Linked DNA regions of Homo sapiens: all the other regions are linked to region 1. Evidence: promoter capture Hi-C in 16 types of primary human blood cells and fetal thymus (Javierre and others, 2016). All regions are on one chromosome and are shown on one strand. Each heading gives the region's core, a stretch centred on a gene start or on the middle of the fragment in contact. The rest is flanking DNA. Distances are from core to core; before and after follow the strand shown.

Region 1 (2,954 bases), core at 270-2,769:
AAAGCTTAGGAAAGGCCGGGCGTGGTGGCTCACATCTGTAATCCCAGCACTTTGGGAGGTCGAGGCAGGCGGATCACCTGCATGATCACCAAAGTGCTGGAAGGTCGAGGCAAGCGGATCACCTGAGGTCAGAAGTTCGAAACCAGCCTGGCCAATATGGTGAAACTCCATCTCTACCAAAAATACAAAAATTAGCCGGACGTGGTGGTGCTCGTCTGTAGTCCCAGCTACTCGGGAGGCTGAGGCAGGAGTATCGCTTGAACCCGACAGGTGGAGGTGGCAGTGAGCCGAGATCCTGCCACTGCACTCCAGCCTGGGCAACAGAGCGAGACTCCGTCTCAAAAAAAAAAAAAGCTTAGAAAACAAAACAATCTAATTTGTGCGGGCATCCTGCTATTTTCTACTCTATTTCATGTTAAGAAAATGGTGTTCGGGCCCCAGTAAACAGACCCTACGCAATGTTCTTCAAACTGCGGGTCGCGGGCCGTGATCTCGAAATTAGTGAGTCATGAGCAACACTGCTTAGAAAAATGCAACTGAACAGAATGGAATTGAAGAGACGAGAAACATTGCTTCCATCACGTCTCATTTGGTTAGATAGCTGTGTCCTAGGTTGCGACGTAAAACGTACCTTAGTGTGAAAAAAGCTGAAAGCCACTTAGCATTCTAATCCTTCACAAGTTTCCCACGCCTGTCAGCGACCTTGCAACCCTTACTTGTTATTCTCCAGTTCCTTTAATAGCTAGATTAAAAACCCTGGCACAGGACAGGGTCCATGCGAAACCCGTATCAACAACGCCAGTATCCGTTTAATGGGAGACGCAGAATTCAGCCACCTCTTTCCATGAGCCAAATTTGCAGATCCCTCAGATCAGGACCAGCCACTTAACTGCCAAGAGGATGGATGCTTCGCCTCATCCCCACAGCTGGCAAGCCCAGGCTGAGTCCCTTACCCGCGTTGCAGTCCCCAAGCCCGGACCCAGCCAACTTGTCCCGGAGGCCCAGCGCCAGGCTAGGGGGCGGGCAGTGTGGCCCCGCGCGTCCGAGCCTACCAACCGCGGCGCGCGCCTCGGGAACTGCGCCAGCCAGCCAATAGGAAGCGCGGAAGTGAGAGCGCGCCAAAACCGACCCAGCCAATGGGGCAGTCCCTCGACTCACCTCCCAACCCCGCCCCGGCTCCCGCGACCGTTCAACAACCCCTTCGCCCTTACCCAGGCCGCGGCCCTGCAGCTGTCAAAGTAGGACGCGGCTTCAGAGGTTGGCCGGAGGGAAAGCGAGTCGTCTAGAGGCTGTGCGCCTTGCGCCCCTGCGTACCCACTTCCTGCCGCCTCTTGCCCACTTACTGGGTGGAGACGCTCAATCCTCGTAGCGAACGCACGTAGCTATGGCTGCAGCACCTCGCAAAAGGCCACAGCTCACCTACGCTGATCCCCACGGTCGCTGGAGTGCCCGGCGCGCTCTGCAGTAAAGCCCTGCTAACTCCGCTCGCCCGCTCCGAACAACCACGTGACCAACTGACGCAGACGAGGGGCGGGGCCTCTGGATCCCGCGAATCGCCTCTTCCCTCGGCCCCGCCCCTTCCTGCGCCTGCGCGGTCAACGGTAGCGAGTACTTGAGGACCGTGGGGGTTTTCTGCGGGCTGGGAGGCCTGTGCCCTTTGACCCTCCCCTCCGACCCTGCTCTTGGAACTTCCTTAAAATGCAAAGTTTTAGCCCTTTACGAAAGGGAGAAAGATTTGCCTCCATTAGTCGTTAGCACCAGAAGAACAAAATATTGTATGTGCATATATATTAATATGTAGTACACGACATATATTTGTGTAAAGCCCTGGCTCCACGGACTCGTAGTTGTATTAGGGGCTTTTATATTTTGGCTTTTTGTGTTTTGACTATGGTGTGGTGCGGTAGGAATTGTTCAGGAGACAACCGATTATCAGTTAATCCTGCAGCTATTCATTGAGCGCCTTATACGTGCCAATTACTACTGTTCTAGGCACTGAAATTACAACTGCTGTTGCAATTTGAAGGAGCAGAAACACCTTGGTAATAATTACGTCTAGCCTTTTCCTTCTTTTTTTTTTTTTTAATTGAAACGGAGTCTCGCTCTGTCACCCAGGCTGGAGTGCAGTGGCGCGATCTCGGCTCACTGCAAGCTCCGCCTCCCGGGTTCAAGCGATTCTCCTGCCTCAGCCTCCCGAGTAGCTGGGACTACAGACAAAGGGAGACCCTGTCTCAAAAAAAAATTAATTTTAAAATATTTTAAAAATAAAAAGCAGAAGGAAGGCGTTATCGAGTACAAATAAGGGACATATTACCAAATGCAATGTATGGATCTCGTCTGAACTAAACACTGTATTTAAAAAAATACCCAAGGGAAATTTGAACACTGACTGAATATTTTGGGATGGTAAGATATGAGTTGTTTAAGGTTACCTGATGAGCAATGGGTTAAAAAAAGAGATTAGTTGTAATGACAATATTGTGGGTTTTATTGTAATAGCTTCTACCTATAAATGGTAATTACAGATGAAATTTTATACCATATATTTTATTTGAAATAATTATTGAGAGAAGCAAGGGAAAAGGTATAAATCAAGCTTTCTCAGTATGGGCTCTATTGACATTTTAGACTGGGCAAATTGTTCGTGGTGGGGGCTGTCCTGGGCATTGTATGCTGTTTAGCAGTATCCCTGGCCTCTACCCTCTAGCTACCAGGAGTACATCCCAATTGTGAAGACCAAAAATGTCTGCAGACCTTGTCAGATAACCTTCCGCAGGGCAAAATCATCCCCAGTTGAGAACCACTGGTGCGAATAAAACAGTATTGGCCTTGTGTTGATAACTGCTGAGGCTAGTATGGATGAGTACATGAAGATTTTTTATTCACTCCCTCTACTTTTATATCTGTTTGGGATTTTCAATAATAATTTTTTTTTTTGAGACGGAGTCTTGCAC
Region 2 (2,954 bases), core at 175-2,674, 370 kb before region 1:
AGTGTAGAATGCCACACTATTTTTCAATGAGATTGAACCTCACTACATTGTCATTAGTAACATATGAGAGTTTCCATACTCCTATTATCAACATTTAGTACTTGCAGTTGTTTTAATTTTAGTTGTTCTGGTAAGTATAGTGGTACTTCATTGTGGTTTTTATTTTCACTTCCCCATTGCTAGTGAGGCTGAGCTCTGTTTATACAGTTAGTCACAATTTGGATATTCTATTTTATGAAGTACCTATTCAAACCTTTTTGCCCATTTTTCTTATAGATTGTCTTTTTCTTATTGATTTATAGACATTCTTCTATATTCTGCATAGAAATCCTTTGTCATATTTATGTTGCAAATTTTCATTATGTGTCTTACCTTTTTACTCTTTTATTGTGTTTTGGGGTGTATATGTTCTTTTGGTGTAATCTAAAATTGCAATAATTTTCCTTTTGGGTAGAGCTTTTTGTGTTTTGTTGAAAAAAATCCACCGTGTCCCAAGATTATAAAAAATTTCTCCTAAATACCTTCCAAAAGCTTGATTGTTTATCTTTTAAATGTAAGTCTTTTAACTTGTCTGAAATTGATTTTTATCTATGGAATAAGGAAAGAGTCCAATCTATTTTTCCAATATGGGATCCCAGTTACCCCAGCAAGTTTAGTGGAAACATTTATCCTTTCCCTAGTGATCTACAGTGTCACTTATCAAGTGTTGGTGTATATGTGGACTTGTTTCCAGGCCTCTATCCTGTTCCCTTGATTATTTTATCTACCACTGAGCCAACACTATATGATCTTAATTATTATAGCTTACAATAAGTCTTGATATTTGCTAGGACAAATCCTCTCTCATCTCCCACCTTGTTCTTCTTGAAGAATGTTTTTTCTCTTTTTGGCCCTTGGCATATCTTAATAAATTTTAGAGTAAGTTTTTAAGCTGTAAAAAAAAAAAAAAAATTCTGGGGGTTTTATTGAGACTATAGTAAATCTACAGATAAATTTGGAGTAAATTGATTATCTTCATAATATTGAGCTTCCTATCTATGAACATAATATAACTCTTCGTTTATAGATACACTTAATATCTCTCAATAGAGTTTTATAATTTTCTCCAAAGAGATCATCTTTTGTTAAATGTATTTCTTGATATTTCATTTTTTATGCTATCTTTTAATTTTTATTTATTTATTTATTTTTTGAGATGGAGTTTCTCTCTTGTTGCCCAGGCTGGAGTGCAATGGCACGATCTCGGCTCACTGCAATCTCTGCCTCCCGGGTTCAAGCAATTCTCCTGCCTCAGCCTCCTGAGCAGCTGGGATTACAGGCATGTGCCACTACACCCGGCTAATCTTGTATTTTTTGTAGAGACGGGGTTTCACCATGTTGGCCAGGCTGGTCTCGAACTCCTGACCTCAGGTGATCCACCTCAGCCTTTTCTGCTATCTTAAATGATATATTTTTAAATTCAATTTTTGTATTTTTTATTGCTGATGTGAGAATAAATTGATTTCTTAAACTATTGATTATATATCTAACAGCTGTACTAAACTCTCAGAGTCTTATAATTTATATGTGGGTTCTTCTGAATGTTTATGTATACAGTCAGTTCTAAGTATCTTCAAAAATGATTTTTTTTCTTTCCACTCCTTATGTGTTTGACTTTTTTTTTTCTTGCCTTAATGTGCTGAGTAGCTTATTCAGGTCTCTTTACTTTTACCTAATGTCTTTTTCTGTTTCAGGGTTACATCTAAGATACCACATCACATTAGCTAAGGAGCTATCATGTCTCCTTAGGCTTCTCTTGGCTGTAATATTTACTTAGATTTTTCTTGTTTTGGATGACCTTGAGTTTCAAGGAGTACAGACCATGTATTTTATAGGTTACCTCTCTACTGGAATTTATCTGATTTTTTTTCTCATGGTTAGACTGGGATTATGGGTTTGCAGGAGGAAGACCACATCATATTAAAGTTACATTCTAACATAATTTATCACCGTTGATATTGACGGATTGTCACATTTCCTTACTGTTAAAGTTACTCTTTTTTTCATCATTTCCATACTGTACTCTTTGAAAGGAAGTCTCTATGAAAGGAAGTCTCTATGTGCAGCCCACATTTAAGAATTGATTATTTCAGATTTTCTACATAGGCAATCATGTTATCTGTGAACAAAAACAGTTTTACTTCTTTCTTCCCAATTTGTATACCACTTATTTATTTATTTGCCCTATTTTATTGTCTAGAACTTTCAATGCAATGTAGAAAAGCAGTGGTGAGAGACGACATCCTTGCCTTGTCCTTATCTTAGTAAGAAAGCTTCTACTTTCTCATTTTTTGTAGATGTTTTAATTAATTAATTAATTAATTTATTTATTTATTTAAGATACAGGGTCTTGCTCTGTCTCCCAGGCTGGAGTCCAGTGGTGTGATCATAGGTCACCCCAGCTTTGAACTGGGGGCTCAAGTGATACTTACATATTGGCCTACCAAGTAGCTAGGGCTATAGATGCATACTGCCATGCCTGGCTAATTTTTTTTTTTTTTTTTTGAGATGGAGTCTCACTCTGTCACCCAGGCTGAAGTGCAGTGCCATGAGCTCAGCTCACTGCAACCTCCGCCTCCTGGGTTCAAGCAGTTCTCCTATTTCAGCCTCCCAAGTAGCTGGGATTACAGGCGTAGGCCACCATGCCTGGCTAATTGTTGTATTTTAGTAGAGACGGGGTTTCACCATGTTGGCCAGGCTGGTCTTGAACTCCTGACCTCAGGCGATCCACCTGCCTCAGCCTCCCAAAGTGCTGGGATTACAGGCATAAGCCACCGCACCTGGCGCTTTTTTATTTTTATTTTTTAGCAATGGGGTTTTGCTATGTTGACCAGGCTGGTCTTAACCTCCTGGCCTCAAGTAATCCTTCTGTGTTGACCCCCAAAAACACTTAGATTAATGGGTATGGGCTGCTG
Region 3 (2,954 bases), core at 140-2,639, 350 kb before region 1:
GTTCGAGAACTGAGACAAACTTGTCTGTTTACATTCTTGAAAAAATTTGTTTTCCCTGGAAAGGGAGTCTGGTGCCTTCTCCATTTTCTTTAAGGAACCCCAGGCTATTATAAACTATTTTAGGTCCTCCATGCAGCAGAGGGTGCAAGAGAAAGGAGAGATAGTAGAAGTAAATGAAGAAAACAGAATTCTGTCAACTGAAAAGAAAAAAACTTTTGCTCAAAAAAAAAAAAAAAAAAAGACAAGGTCCCAGGAGAAAAACAAAAACATGAAGTCCTTTTAAATACAAACACACACATATGCGTGCGCGCGTGCGCACACACGCACGCATCTTGGATGTTAGGTTTTAATTAAGCTGACTTTTAACCATTGAGCTCCTTAAAAAAAAACTTTTAAAATCTCATTACCATATTTCAGCTAGGACAAATTGCTGCTATTTCAGAAGTACAGCCATTGCTCTTTCAGTTTGGCCTGGCTAACAAAAAGGTGGCCTTGTTATGTAAATGAAGACCCTTAGAATAAAAAATTTTTCTTTTTGTTTTTTTTTTTTTTCCTTTTTCTGGCCATTTTTTCCCCTCCACCCCATACCACGTGTGTGCGTGAGTGTGTGTGTGTGTGTGTGTGTGTGTGTGAGAATTTAGCCACTTCAGAGGCCTTGTTCCCCATAATTTGGAATTTCCTTTGGATTTGATCAAGTTGGATAGAGTTGATCAAACCCAATGGGAAAAAGTCCAAAACAACAGTGAAAACAGGAATGAACAACAACAACAACAAAAACAGTTAAGCAAAACAATCACACAACTTATATCATTACTGAGTACTCTAATAGTAAGGAGAAATTAAGACCAGCTGGTTGTTAATCTTAACTTTAGCCAAGACAAACCCCAATTCAGTTACTTAGCTAGGGATGGGTCTCAGGGTGTAGACTGCTCTCTACCATACTAGAAGCAGAGAGAAAAAAAACTCATCTTCCCTGTTGGAAGTGAGCTCAAACTCCATAAAAGAGTTACCTGTCTTCCATAGCCATGGAAACAGGAAATCTTCCCTTCCTTTTTGGAAGCAAGTAAAAGTTTTTTTGGAATTTTACTTGCTTTTTTTTTTTTTTCCAGCAAAATAAACTTTAGATCTCTACCACATTTGGGGACATCAGGGATTCTCTGGAGGGGGTGCTCTCAGGCCTCAGCAAATTGTCCTATTGGTTTGAGCCATAAAGTTAGCTCATGCTGGTACCAAGCATAGATTTGTCAAAGGTCAGGGGCATCTCCACTCAGAATCCCTTCATGGTTACCAAAATGTGAACCCTGAAAATCTGAGACAGGTCTCAGTTAATTTAGAAAGTTTAGTTTGCCAAGGTTGAGGACATTTGGCCATGACACAACCTCAGGAGGCCCTGATGATATATGCCCAAGGTGGTGAGAGCACAGTTTGGTTTTATACATTTTAGGGAGACAAGAGACATCAATTAACATATGTAAGATGAACATTGGTTCGGTTTGGAAAAGCAGGACAACTTGAAGCAGGGAGGGGGCTTCCAGGTCATAGGTAGATAAGAGATAATTGGTTGCATTCTTTTGAGTTTCTAATTAGCCTTTCCAAGGGAGGCAATCAGATATGCATTTATCTCAGTGTGAGCAGAGGGGTGACTTTGAATAGAATGTGAGGCAGGTTTACCCTAAGCAGTTCCCAGCTTGACTTTCCCTTTTAGCTTAGCGATTTGGGGGGCCCAAGATATTTTCCTTTCACACCAGTATTGCACCTGTAGCTTGCTTGGCTCCTCAGATAGGGCTGCCAGCTTGACCAATAAAAATACAGGATGCCCAGTTAAATGTGCATTTCAGATTTAAAAAAACTAATGTATTTTTAGTATAAATATGTCCAAAGTAGTTAATGGGACACCCTTTTAGCTGGCAACTCTGCTCTAGGAGAACCTCTAAGTAATTCCCTGATGGCCCATTTTGATGTTCTTCCATCTTCTGGGTGGATTCAAGTCAGTGAAGCCTCAGACATAGTTCTGTCACTGGTAAACTTCCGCCAGCACTTCAAGGTGTTGGAGTTTTCTCTTCCAACTATTACAGCTTTGGGACTCTGTCTCTGGGTTTCCTCTCCTAGTTTTTTAACTTAGCGGGCCATTTCACAGAGTGCCACTTAGCCAGCCATTTAAGGAGGCCTTAAAGTTTACTGATTAAGAGCATCATCTCTCCTTATAGACTACCTGGTTTAGAAGCCTGATTCCACGACTTACTAGCTAGGTCATAACCCTCGACAGGTTTCTTAGCCTTTCTGGACCTCGGTCTTCTCATTTCTAAAATGAGGATGAAAATATTACCTACTTTGTCAGGTTGCTGAGAGGATTAAGTGATGCCAAACACATAAAACTTAAAAGAATGCCATATGGTGGTATATGGCAAGCACCTCAAAAAAGTGAATTATAGTTACTATTTCTCTGCAATGAGCTTCTTGTGTAGCTTATACAGAGGGACTTTTTTACAGGAACTCAGATTGTTTTTGTATCTAATATGCTCATCTAAGTATAGTGATTGCTTTCCCACAGACTAGCCTTTCTCTTCTTCATTCAAAGCCTTACAGGTGATTGACCTGTTCTCTTGACACATTAGTCCTCCCCTCTTAGCTCTCCTGCCCATGAGGAAGCAGGTTCTGCCAGCTTTATTCCCAGATGCAGCTCACCAAGCATTTGCACGTTGAGACTGCATTTCTGTGTTAACTTATGCTCTGTATTCTCCCATCCACTTCTCTGAGTTCAGTAAATTATAGTTGGATTCTCTTCGTAGCTATTTATCTGAAGAAACTGTCTTTTCTAGTTTCTAGGTTCCAGCCAAGAACAGAGACCTACCTGTTCTACCCACCATTATTCAGCCATTTTTCTTCTCAACACAACCAAGATCAACAAATCCTATAAGCCATGATTCTCATCTTTAAAGCCTATCAATTTTTCA
Region 4 (2,954 bases), core at 264-2,763, 350 kb after region 1:
TGGAAAGATGACTAGACTCTGACAAAACAGAGTGAAGCCGAAGGCCAGGCAAATTTAGTAAATGAGTAATTCCATAAATTGGGAAAGAGAGGGAGAATAAAGTACCATTTGATGCTGTTTTCTTAAGTGTAGATTTTCCCTATTAATTGACACTGGGTATTAAGGGATAAGATAAGCACAGGGCTAAGCATAGTGTCTGACCCATGATACAACCTCCACAAATTTTAGCTATTATTATTATTTCTAGATTTCATCAGTAGTTTTCAAAATTAAATAAGAAACTGTCATATCCTGCTCTGACCAAAATACTGTCAGCCAGTTTGATCACCCGTACCTCATGTGCCAGCTTTGGTTCAGAATAACTTTTGTCAGTTTCCACAAATCAAATCCGACCTCGGAGTATGAAGATTTGCCACCACTGAAAATATTTAAAGACCAGGCATGGTGGCTCACATCTGTAATTTCAGCACTTTGGGAAGCCGAGGCGGGTGGATCACTTGAGGTCGGGAGTTCGAGACCAGCCTGGCCAACATGGTGAGAGCTCGTCTCTACTAAAAATACAAAAATTAGCCAGATGTGGTGGCACATGCCTGTAATCTCCGCTACTCGGGAGGCTGAGACATGAGAATCACTTGAAACTAGGAAGCAGAAGTTGCAGTGAGCTGAGATCACATCACTGCACTCCAGCCTGGGTGACAGGGCAAGACTCTGTTTCAAAAAAGAAGAAAATGTTTTAAAAACTTGCAGCAGGTTTTGAAGGCAATTCTGAAAGATGGGTCCTAAAATGTTTTAAGCAGCAGGGTAGGTGGGAGGTACGCTAAACACATTGACAAAGCCAGCTTCTAGGGGAAGTCCTTACTATTCAAGATATGTTTTCCACATTGTACCAGAACTAAGCATGCACTGCCCTACTTCTCCTTTATGATTTATGTGCCAGAATAGGGATTGGGGTGAGCATCCTTAGCTGCGGTTTTCAGAACTTATAGATGTGAGAAAGCGGTCTGTAAACAAAGGGAAAGTGGCATTTGAGTTCAAGCCAGGGGATCTGGCCAGTGTCTTATTCATCTTTATATTTCTAGAGCATAGCATGATGCCTGGACTACCATAGGAACTCAATAGATGTTATGAATGAGCCATGAATTCTGTCTTGTGTCCCTTACAGAACCAAGTCGTCATTGCTGCTGGAAGGAGTTCTTTGGGAGCCCGACTCTCCGGGGCACTTCACGTCTATAGCCTTGGCTCAGATTGAAGATTTCACTGCATTTCCCCACTCTGCCCACCTCTCTCATGCTGAATCACATCCATGGTGAGCATTTTGATGGACAAAGTGGCACATCCAGTGGAGCGGTGGTAGATCCTGATAGACATGGGGCTCCTGGGAGTAGAGAGACACACTAACAGCCACACCCTCTGGAAATCTGATACAGTAAATATATGACTGCACCAGAAATATGTGAAATAGCAGACATTCTGCTTACTCATGTCTCCTTCCACAGTTTACTTCCTCGCTCCCTTTGCATCTAAACCTTTCTTCTTTCCCAACTTATTGCCTGTAGTCAGACCTGCTGTACAACCTATTTCCTCTTCCTCTTGAATGTCTTTCCAATGGCTGGAAAGGTCCCTCTGTGGTTATCTGTTAGAACAGTCTCTGTACACAATTCCTCCTAAAAACATCCTTTTTTAAAAAAAGAATTGTTCAGCCATAAAGAAAGAACAAGATCATGCCCTTTGCAGGGACATGGATGGAGCTGGAGGCCATTATCCTTCATAAACTATTGCAGGAACAGAAAACCAAACACTCCATATTCTCACTTGTAAGTGGGAGCTAAATGAGAACACGTGGACACATAGAGGGAAACAACACACACTGGGGCCTATGAGAGGGCGGAAGGTGGGAGGAGGGAGAGATCAGGAAAAATAACTAATGGATACTTAGGGTGATGAAATAATCTGTGTAACAAACCCCCATGACACACCTTTATGTATGTAACAAACCAGCACTTCCTGCGCATGTACCCCTGAACTTAAAAGTTAAAAAAAAGTTGAACTTAAAAATAACAGATTGGCCCATGCCAATCAAAGTATAATAGAAAGCATAGTATACAGAAAAAAAAAAAAAAAAGAAACTGAGGGAGGAAAAATAGTACAGAGTAAAGCATGGGGGTGAGGGATAACCTCACATTCCAAATCACTTGTGACTTAGTCCTTTTTAACTTTTATTTTAGGTTCAGTGGTACATGTGAAGGTTTTATCTTTTCTGTTCCTCCCACCTTCCCCACTCAAGTAGACCCCAGTGTGTGTTGTTTTGTGTTCATAAGTTCTTTTAACTTAGCACCCACTTGTGAGAACATGCTATACTTGGTATTTGGTTTTCTGTTCCTGGTCGTGTGTTAGTTTGCTAAGGATGATAGTCCTTTTTTTTTTTTTTTTTTTTTGAGACGGAGTCTTGCTCTGTTGCCCAGGCTGGAGTGCAGTGATGTGATCTCAGCTCACTGCAACCTCCGCCTCCCAGGTTCAAGTGATTCTCCTGTCTCAGCCTCCCAGGCAGCTGGGACTACAGGTGCACAATACTACGCCCGGCTAATTTTTGTATTTTTAGTAGAGACAGGGTTTCACCATGTTGGCCAGGCTGGTCTCGAACTCCTGATCTCAGGTGATCCACCCACCTTGACCTCCCAAAGTGCTGGGATTACATGTGTGAGCCACAGGACCTGGCCGATAATCCTTTCTTAATGAGGATTAATACCTTTTCAATGTTTATATAGTGAAGGACAAATATAAAAACCAAGACTATCACCCTTCTGTGCCCTCCAATACTTTTGTAGAGTTGGCTGTTCTAACACCTAAAGAGCCTAGCGACACTGCTAGTTTTAAGCCATCTCATGAGGGACCTTTGTCGCATTAGGTTACAACTTGTGCCAAAAGAACTAGAGGGAAAAGATGTGGCCTGAGCC
Region 5 (2,954 bases), core at 259-2,758, 330 kb before region 1:
CAGACCCAATGGGGGAAGGCTGCCTATGAAGGTTGCTCTAATGATGAGTGATTTTGCTGGAGGAGCATCAGGCTTTCCAATGACTTTCAGTGGTGGAAAATTTACGGGTAATATTTTGTATGAAAGTGATACCAAGTATCACGCATGGCACATTGCTAAATGCTGTAAGAGTAAATACAAATGTAATTGAGACATGATCCCTCCCCACAAGAAGCATGCAATCTTATTGGGAAACCAGATTTGTAAGTTGCAGATTACCAACTAAGGTTTCTAGCTCAAAACATGATGGAGCATGAAGGAAATGTTGAGATCTGAGAGCACCTCAGGAGGAGCCAAGAAAGAGAATCATCTGGATTCACCATGTAGACCGTAGAGCAGAACAGGAAAGGCCTGAAGTGGGTCATCCAGGCTTAGGTGCTCTTGGAATATGGTTCCTAATGGGGTGTGTGCAGCCTCAATGTAGACACATCCCCTTGGCACTGTGGATGCTCATATCAGGGAGCAGTGTGCCCAGAAGAGAGTCCTCTAGTTGGGGACCTCTAGTGCACCCAGAGGAGGGTCCTCTGGTTGGGGGTCTTAGGCAGGAGCCCTTCTGCTCTGGGTCCAAGAGTGGGGTTGGGGTTGACATTGGGGAAGTGTGTATCCTCAACACTAGTATTGTAAGTGCTCAATACATGTCCACTTAATAAATTAATGTATCTGATAAGTGATCCCTGTCTAACAGTGTGGCAGAAAATGCCCTGCTTTGCAATATGAAGATAACCTTTGTCCCGTTCTTTGCTTTCTTCTCTAAGTCTATATTCATTGCCTCCCGGAGTGTGTAACCACATGAGAAATAGAGGGAAGGTTCTGTCCTTAAGAAGTTAAAAGTGTGACTGGGAAGGTAAAACATACTTATTAAGGGTTAACTAGCATCATGCCATTCTGTGTGATGGTGAGTTTGTGTGTGTGTGCACATGTGCGTGAGTACACACATATACATTTAAAAAGGTCTTGAATATACCAAAATATTATGTCTAGGTGATGGGTAGCTTGTATATTTTTTCTGTATCCTTGTCTGTGTTTGTCAAATTTTATAGAAACAATAACAGTAACAGCTCTCTGACCTTCTACCCTGTATGTTCTGCGTCCTGTCTAATTCCTCAAGTTCCTTCACTGCCTGTCACTCTGATGCTTGCTATATATCAGCCCATCCTGCTTTTTGTTTCTTAGACCCAAAGTGTCAAGTGCACACCTGCCCTGGGTCTTTGTGTTTGCTGTTTCCATTTCCTGGAGTGCAGCTGGCCCTGATTTGCATGTGACCAGCAACTTTTCATCTATGTCTCAACTCAAATGTCACCTCTTCACTGACCATCCTGTCTAATGATTCCCTCCATCTCATCCCACTCACCCCAGCCACTCTCTGTTCCATTGCCCTGTTTTATTTTCTTCACGGTGCATCATTCTTTGCAATGACTTTATTTACTTGTTCATTATTTGCTTCTCTCACTAGAATGAACACTCCATGAGAGCAGGGACCTGCTTTGCCTTGTTCACCACTTTATTCCCAGTGGCTAGAACCACGTCTGACACAGAGTAGGTGCACAATAAATATTGGTTACGTGAATGAATAAGCAAATGAACGGCACTGTGAGAGGGGCATCATGACTCCATTTACAGAGAAGATACAGACATGGAGAAGTTAGGTAGTTTGCCCAAGGCTGCCCAACCAGTAAGTGGTGGGTCAGGATTTTCAACCTAACTGACTCCAACGTCATGCTCTTAATCACTGTGTATTTGTCAGATTATGTTGAACACACCTGTTATAATCTACAAATATAATGAAGCCATTTTCATGTTAGTAAAGAGTTAATTTCAAGAATTACAATGCCCTTAAAATGTGCATGCACACCAACTACGATTATGCATCCTACCCTGTGTATTCAGCTAGGGTCCGAATGAATTGCCATATACAAGGAGAAAGCTCAGTGCCTTTGGCTGGCTTGGTAACATTTTCCTAGTAACCAATTGAAATTTCCAAGATAAAAACTCCGGGGAAATCCTCCACTAATGACATGGAGCCTTGTTCTATTTCTGCCTTAGTTACCTATCAATTTTATCTCCTGAAAGAGTTCCAATCTGCTAGAACATGTGTTTTTCTGTGATTTTTCCAGCAGAGGAGACTCTAATCTAAATCCTGTCATTTCAGAGGAATGGAAAGCCCAATTCATTAAAACAGAAAGGAAGAAGCTCCTGAACTACAAGGCTCGGCTGGTGAAGAACCTGCAACCCCGAATTTATTGTCCCTTTGCTGGGTATTTTGTGGAATCTCACCCATCAGACAAGTATGGCTAGACACTTTGTACATTTTTACATACAACTTAACGTATGGTGGAATGAGCGACTTTGCTGTGAAAGCAGTGTGACATGAGAAGGAAAGTGATTAGTAGGTGTCTGGAACTTTTTAACAAGCTGCTGGAGAACCCAGAGCATGAATAAAAGTTACACTTGGCAGCCAGGAACTCTTTCAGGAGATAAAATAACAGATAGATATTCTCCGAAAGGATCCCAGGAAAGAGGATGGCAACTGCCATTTATTATGTGAAGTGAACTGGGGACTTTTAACTAAGCCATCTAAGTTAATCTCCCAATAGCACTATGCGTAGGAAGGGGGTATTGTTCCTTTTTTGCAGATAAGGAATCTGAAACTCAGAAAGGTCAAGGGACGTGCCCAAAGTCACCCTGTTGGAAACATGAGTTGAGAATGGAACCCTGGTATGCTTAGTTCTAAAGCTCTTTTCTCTATACCATACTGCATTCCAGAATAGAATTATGTCTTTCTTCTCATGTTTTAGGTATCTAATGTGATTTTTCTTGCAGCAATATAACTTCTGCAAATACTATGAATCATCACCAATGTATGAAATTGTTGAAAGAAATAAAAGACCATGAATTTGATCTTGTCCCCTTTGCCA
Region 6 (2,954 bases), core at 128-2,627, 310 kb before region 1:
ATCTCTACTAAAAATACAAAAATTAGCTGGGCGTTGTTGTGGGCACCTGTAGTCCCAGCTACTTGGGAGGCTGAGGCAGGAGAATCGCTTGAACCCAGGAGACGGCAGTTTCAGTGAGCCGAGATCATGCCATTGCACTCCAACCTGGGCAACAGAGCAAAACTCGGTCTCAAAAAACAAACAAAAAAACTGGATTTTTACAGGTAAGAAAATCCTGTGTGAGGCACCGTATAGATGATAAATAGGCTTACATCTTTTTAGACAAAATAAATCTTTACATTTATTGCTTTATATATCAAATACTTACCAAGCTTGCTTTATGCCAAGCACAGTGTTAAACACTTTGGAAATGTTAAGACATTTAATCCAACAACAACCCTGTGAACAGATACTACTATCTGCCCCCATTTTGTGGGGGAAGAAACTGGGATTATAAGAGTTAGAATAACTTGCCCATGGTTATACAGCTAATGAATGGTGATGCGGGGCTTTAACTCAAGCAGTCTAGCTCAAAGTCTATGCTCTTAGCCACTGTGTAGCCTTTCAAATCTGAATTTACAAAACCTATAAATTGAGGTTTCTTAGCCTCAAGAGATTCACCTTTGAAAATTTTTAAATAACTTCATTTAAAATATTTAATTTGGAAAAAAAATCACTTTTTCACAGCTTTCCATAATGCATCTGCTGGATAAAGCAAGCAGCAGCTCTGTTGCATATTTAAATACACCATGGGGCAAAATCATGATGCCTGCTCTGCACATGGTACTGTTATACTGTGGCTTGAGGGCTTTTATCTCCCAGGATTTTAGGGAGAGTTCTATATGCTGAGGTTTGGTTAAAGAGGTTATGCCTATGTGTGGAAGAGCTCCTTTTCTTGCTACCCGGAGACTTCTCATATTGCCTCCCTCCTGCCACCTTTTTGGAGGTATTAATTGCCTTTCAAACTCATCATTTCTATCACACTAACTCTCCATTCTTAAATGCATGGCTCCTGTAGCTCTCCATCCTCCTGCTCCGACCTGGAAGGGCTCCTCTCTAGCTCTGCTGCAAATCTGCTACCTTTCACTGCCTCCAGACCCCACCCATGCCTTTCCCTTCCTTGCTTCACTTCTATGTGGGACTTTCTGCTTAACTGTCTCCTGCCTCATGGTGTGTAAGTAAGTTTCAGCATGTAATTCTGGGTGACTAATCATTTTCCATAGACACCGGAAGGCATTGCTCCTTTGGCTTCCAGTTATAGACAAGGTTGCTCTAAAGAAAACTTATGCTAGCTTGATCCTCCTTTCTTTGTGGGTGACTTTTAAGAATTACAGGATTAGTCCATATTTACTGATAAAAAGACTTTTTTCAGCTGATTTGGGGCTCTTATGTATAGGTGTAGGATCTGTCATCCAGTAGGCTCTACTTACAGAGGGCTCGCACACTGGTGCAAGGCACATCTCATAAACTGGTGAAGCTGGGGCAGACTGCATCAAGTAGAATGCGGGATGAGAAGGGGGCAGGCCTGCTGAGCTCCGGCTGATCTGAAATTTCCAGAGAACTTGGAAATCTGGATTTTCATGTGAAATACCCAAAGTTATAAATGTAGAAAGCTGAGTCAATGTTCTTAAAGAGTTATAGACTACATGAAATGAGAGCTAGGCTGTATTTGGCCAAAGGATCATCAGTATGCTTTAAGCTGTGAAGGTGAGGAGAGAAGCCAGCTAGGGGACCCCCGAGTGCAAAAATGTGGAGGCTCTTGCTTTCAGCATCACAAACACACTACCTGCCCTTGTTCTCCCCCTACCCCAAAATTGATTCTATGTATTGAGAGAACTGTAGAAATATATTTGACCTGGGAGCCATATATAGGGGTAGAGAAGGGGCCAGCTATCTCATGGACATAACTTTTGTGCTTGCCCTCCTGTCATCCGCAGTACCTACTTCTCTTCCCTCCACATCTGAACACCCCTCCATGTACTGTCTGGGATTGTACAGCCTCTGCCCTGCATCTTCGGTTTCCACTTGTCTGCATGCTTTCTAGATTCACGTAATTAGTTGAATTCTCCTGTCAATGAATCACTTCCTTTTCTTTTCAATGTGGCAGTTTATTCCTGTATAATTGCTTTGCAACATTTTAGTTGGATCTGGAAATGCAGAGGAGATAGGTTATGCACGCAATTTGTCCGTCATTGTGAACCAATAGTCTTCTCCTTAGCCCAGTGACAGTACCTCCTTGTTTTCCTGAATATTCTTTTGCATTCTTTTGGAGTTCCTCTTTCCCCAGCCACTGCTTAAGTCTCTTGTTTCCTTCCAGGACTCTGTGTTCATTCCACTGTTCTTCCCAAGTCTCTTCCTGGGTAAACTCACCTGCTAACATCACTTCTCTGTTAATGACTCCAAAAATAATCCATATGTCCAGCCCAGAGCGCTCTCTGGCTACCTCCAGTGCTGTCAAGCTTTGGGTTCTTAATAGTCAACTGCCTGCTAGATATAATTGTCTGAATTTCTGAATGCTTAATACATAATTTTCAACTTGTTCAAAGTTCAATTCCTCATCTTCCTTCTTTAAAATGTTCTTTTTCCTTTTTCTATCTGATCGTTGGTAATATCATTCCCCAAGTCAGTCAAGCTAGAAACAAATGAGTAATCTTTGGTTCTTCCCTTTTCCTTACATCCCCAAATCTAATCAGTCATCTAGACCTTTCCATTTTACACCCCAAATATTTCTTAAATCTACTTCCAATTCTCCTGTGTGCTTCTCTCCCAGCTAAAAGGCCAAAAAAGGCCATTTACCCTGCATTGGGAGGAACCAGGTCCTGGTACTGCATCTTAGCCAGGCCGACCTTAACCTGACCAAATTGTAGAATCATGTTTCTAAACCTCTATTAGCAAAACTCTGCCCTATGTTTGTAACCTCAGTTCACGATGGATATAATTGTTTTATACAAATGGTGCAAAAAAGAGAAATAGAT
Region 7 (2,954 bases), core at 305-2,804, 290 kb before region 1:
TTTATGATGTATCAGGTGCTTTGTTAAGCATACAACATACATTGTTTCTTTCAAGATACAAAGATTTTGTTATCTCTGTGTTGTCAATGAAAAAACTAAGGCTCAAAGAGCTAGTTAACTAGACAGCCCAGTGTCACGTTATTCATATGAATCCACTCGTGTCTTCCTCTACGTGAGGCAGGTTTCTCCTATGCCCTCTGCATGGGTGTAGGGGAAGGTGGTTCTGGTGATTTCATCTGGCCCCAGGACCTTTGCAAGTTCGTAGCATACTCCCAGTGTGCCCACAAAACCTGTGCTTTGCAATGCTAAAGGCATTTCTGGAGACATGAGAGTGGCTAGGTGGGAGGGGAAGGGCTCAGGAGGCCTGGAAATAAGTTCCCAAAACACAAGCATTGGTTTAGGAGGAATTCGGAATTGGTTTAGGAGGAATTCTCCCTCTCCATCCTGTATCTGCTGCTTTTTCTCCACTTAGGACACTTTAAAAAATAAAATAAAATAACTGGGTTTAAGTATACATGTGGATATTTTATTTTCCCAGCTGCAGCAAGAACAGCCTGGATGTTTCAGATTCTTGGGGCTTTCAGAGATGGGTCATGTCAACAATGCTGTCCTCTCTTAGGATATTAAAGAGTATTAAAGGATTTCATTCAGAGGGTTCTCCTGACATGTGGTGGGTTGGAAATATGATCCAAAGTATCCAAATTACAAATGTAAGAAAACAGTAATACTGAATGTTAAATTATTATTAAGGACTTACATTTGGGCTTTCTACTGGCTTTCAGTCAATATGCTTTGCTTTTTTTTTTTTTTTTTTTTGAGATGGAGTCTCACTCTTGTCACCCAGGCTGGAGTGCAATGGCGTGATCTCGACTCCCTGCAACCTCCGCCTCCCGGGTTCAAGCAATTCTCCTGCCTCAGCCTCCTGAGTAGTTGGGCTTACAGACGCCTGCCACCATGCCCAGCTAATTTTTGTATTTTTTAGTAGAGACGGGGTTTCACCATGTTGGCCAGGCTGGTCTCAAACTCCTGACCTCTAGTGATCCACCCGCCTCAGCCTTCCAAAGTGCTGGGATTACAGGCTTGAGCCACCGCACCTGGCCATGCTAAGCTTTTTAACAGTCATGATGACTAGTGTTTATTGAGTGTCCATTATGTGACTGTTTTGCATATATTATCTCTAATCCTCATAGCAACTCTGAAAGATATGTATTATTCAACCCATTTTATAGACGAAGGCTCAAGGAGGCTCAGTAACATGCCCAGAGCCACAATAGTGGGGGGCCCAGAATTCAGATCTGAAGTAATTTGATTTCAAATATTAAATATTTGGCCATTTTCTCCCCACCCAGCATTGTGGCTGCTAGCCATCCTTTATATGAAACATTCATCTCAATTACTAAAAGTGGCTTAAACCTATTTTCTCCTACTAACATGAATATATACATCTCTGTTCTCAGCAGAAGACACAAGAGTACAGGGATCAGAAAAACCCTTGAATGTTGCAGACTGCCCCAGTGCCATCAGACTTCAGATGTGTGACTCATTTTATTTTTGGTCAACACACGTAAGTCACAATAATACATCCTCTTTTTCCAAGGAAGGATGTTTAATAAGAATAAAGATGGCCAGGCCTGGTGGCCCATGCCTGTAATCCCAGCACTTTGAGAAGCCGAGGCGGGTGGATTACCTGAGGTCAGGAGTTTGAGACCAGCCTGACTAACATGGTGAAACCCCGTCCCTACTAAAAATACAAAAATTAGTCGAGCGTAGTGGCACATGCCTGTAATCCTAGCTACTCCAGAGACTGAGGCAGGAGAATCGCTTGAATCCGGGAGGTGGAGGTTGCAGTGAGCCGAGATTGTGCCATTGCACTCCAGCTTAGGCAACAGAGTGAGACTCCATCTCAAAAAAAAAAGGAAGAAAGAAAGGGTCTAATATTGAACTTTGCATAAAAGGGGCCACAATTAATCAATTTAATTAGGTGGAATATGCTAAGCTTTTAATAAGCATTGTCTCATTTAATCACCAAAAACAGCCCCTGTAGAATTGGTATTTACTGATGGTCTGACCTCAAGCAAGTTACTCTGTCCCACTGAGCTCCAGTTCCCTGGTCTACAAAATGGAGATAATGATAGTTCCTGCTTCATAAGGTTATGATGATATTAAATAATCCACATAAAGTGCTTAGCCCAGCACCCAAAACAAAGTAAAAGCTCAGATAGTGTTTGCTCTTGTCCCTATTTTACAGATCAGAAGCCTGAGACTCATAGAAATTAAGTATCGTGCCGAGTCACATCACTGAGAGCTAAACCTCAAAGTGAAATTCACTAACCACTCTGCTATACTGCCTTGCTTAGCTAATGGTTGGTTTAATTAAATAAGTTAATTAATTATTGAAATTGTATCTTTTGTCCCCTGACTCTACTGTGTCTGGAGATAAACTCTGTTGGTTAGAGCACAGGGCTACAAAGACCAAGGCTAGTTAATACATTCCTCACCAGCCATCCTGCAACCCCAAAAGGATGATGGATGGAGGGGCTGTGGATGAATCCATGCATAGCCATCACTGCTATCAGAAAACAATCCTAGCCCTACTGTTAGTAGCCCTAGTTAGAGTGACCCTGTGTTCTGGTATGCCCAAACCAGTCTTGGTTTATTGCAGTCTTCCCGGTACAATTATTAACAGTGCCCTCTCGCTCTCAAAAGGTCTTGGTTTTGGCCAACAATTATATGCCCACTCTACCCATAAGTGGTAGAGCAGCATGTTCTCATCATCCGCTGCCTCCTTGGTCCTGTTCACAGACTGTCAACAGCCATGTCTTGTACACTGGGACTTTTCCCCTACCCCTCATGGCTGACTGCTTTAAACCTCAACCTTTTCTCCTTGAAATTCTCCCCTCCATAATTTCTCAATTCTTCCTGGCTTCAGATGCTTGGCTATGGTATGGGGTTTA

The links. Contacts are between HindIII fragments. The CHiCAGO score rates a contact against its expected background, and 5 or more counts as called.
Region 2: a fragment that was not itself captured here is called in contact with the fragment with the promoter of GMNN in region 1 in 8 of 17 cell types (neutrophils, activated CD4 T cells, total B cells and 5 more); the score reaches 10.0 in neutrophils.
Region 3: a fragment that was not itself captured here is called in contact with the fragment with the promoter of GMNN in region 1 in 2 of 17 cell types (neutrophils and naive B cells); the score reaches 6.0 in neutrophils.
Region 4: a fragment that was not itself captured here is called in contact with the fragment with the promoter of GMNN in region 1 in 11 of 17 cell types (total B cells, neutrophils, naive B cells and 8 more); the score reaches 13.0 in total B cells.
Region 5: a fragment that was not itself captured here is called in contact with the fragment with the promoter of GMNN in region 1 in 1 of 17 cell types (activated CD4 T cells); the score reaches 6.2 in activated CD4 T cells.
Region 6: a contact is called between a fragment that was not itself captured here and the fragment with the promoter of GMNN in region 1, in 12 of 17 cell types (non-activated CD4 T cells, total B cells, naive CD8 T cells and 9 more). The highest score is 12.5, in non-activated CD4 T cells.
Region 7: a contact is called between a fragment that was not itself captured here and the fragment with the promoter of GMNN in region 1, in 9 of 17 cell types (neutrophils, non-activated CD4 T cells, M0 macrophages and 6 more). The highest score is 12.0, in neutrophils.

The regions. Positions count from the first base shown.
Region 1 is chr6:24,773,502-24,776,455 of GRCh38, reverse strand. It overlaps GMNN (geminin DNA replication inhibitor), which reads right to left and starts at 1,519. Exons shown (of 7, transcript NM_015895.5): 1 at 1,212-1,519. RefSeq lists an enhancer at 525-604. The HindIII fragment of the contact is 2,242 bases long and covers 357-2,598 here.
Region 2 is chr6:25,144,521-25,147,474 of GRCh38, reverse strand. No RefSeq gene overlaps it. Among named protein-coding and RNA genes, the nearest start is that of CARMIL1, 130 kb to the left of the region's middle. The HindIII fragment of the contact is 1,781 bases long and covers 534-2,314 here.
Region 3 is chr6:25,127,723-25,130,676 of GRCh38, reverse strand. The region is part of intron 2 of LOC124901282 (a long non-coding RNA gene); the gene reads right to left. It also overlaps the pseudogene CMAHP. Among named protein-coding and RNA genes, the nearest start is that of CARMIL1, 150 kb to the left of the region's middle. The HindIII fragment of the contact is 6,422 bases long and covers 1-2,954 here.
Region 4 is chr6:24,427,327-24,430,280 of GRCh38, reverse strand. GPLD1 (glycosylphosphatidylinositol specific phospholipase D1) reads left to right here. Exons shown (of 25, transcript NM_001503.4): 25 at 1,163-2,954. The coding sequence ends at 1,249. Among named protein-coding and RNA genes, the nearest start is that of MRS2, 26 kb to the right of the region's middle. The HindIII fragment of the contact is 4,577 bases long and covers 1-2,954 here.
Region 5 is chr6:25,105,729-25,108,682 of GRCh38, reverse strand. It overlaps the pseudogene CMAHP. Among named protein-coding and RNA genes, the nearest start is that of RIPOR2, 170 kb to the right of the region's middle. The HindIII fragment of the contact is 3,413 bases long and covers 1-2,954 here.
Region 6 is chr6:25,087,847-25,090,800 of GRCh38, reverse strand. It overlaps the pseudogene CMAHP. Among named protein-coding and RNA genes, the nearest start is that of RIPOR2, 150 kb to the right of the region's middle. The HindIII fragment of the contact is 2,127 bases long and covers 314-2,440 here.
Region 7 is chr6:25,064,433-25,067,386 of GRCh38, reverse strand. No RefSeq gene overlaps it. Among named protein-coding and RNA genes, the nearest start is that of RIPOR2, 130 kb to the right of the region's middle. The HindIII fragment of the contact is 888 bases long and covers 1,111-1,998 here.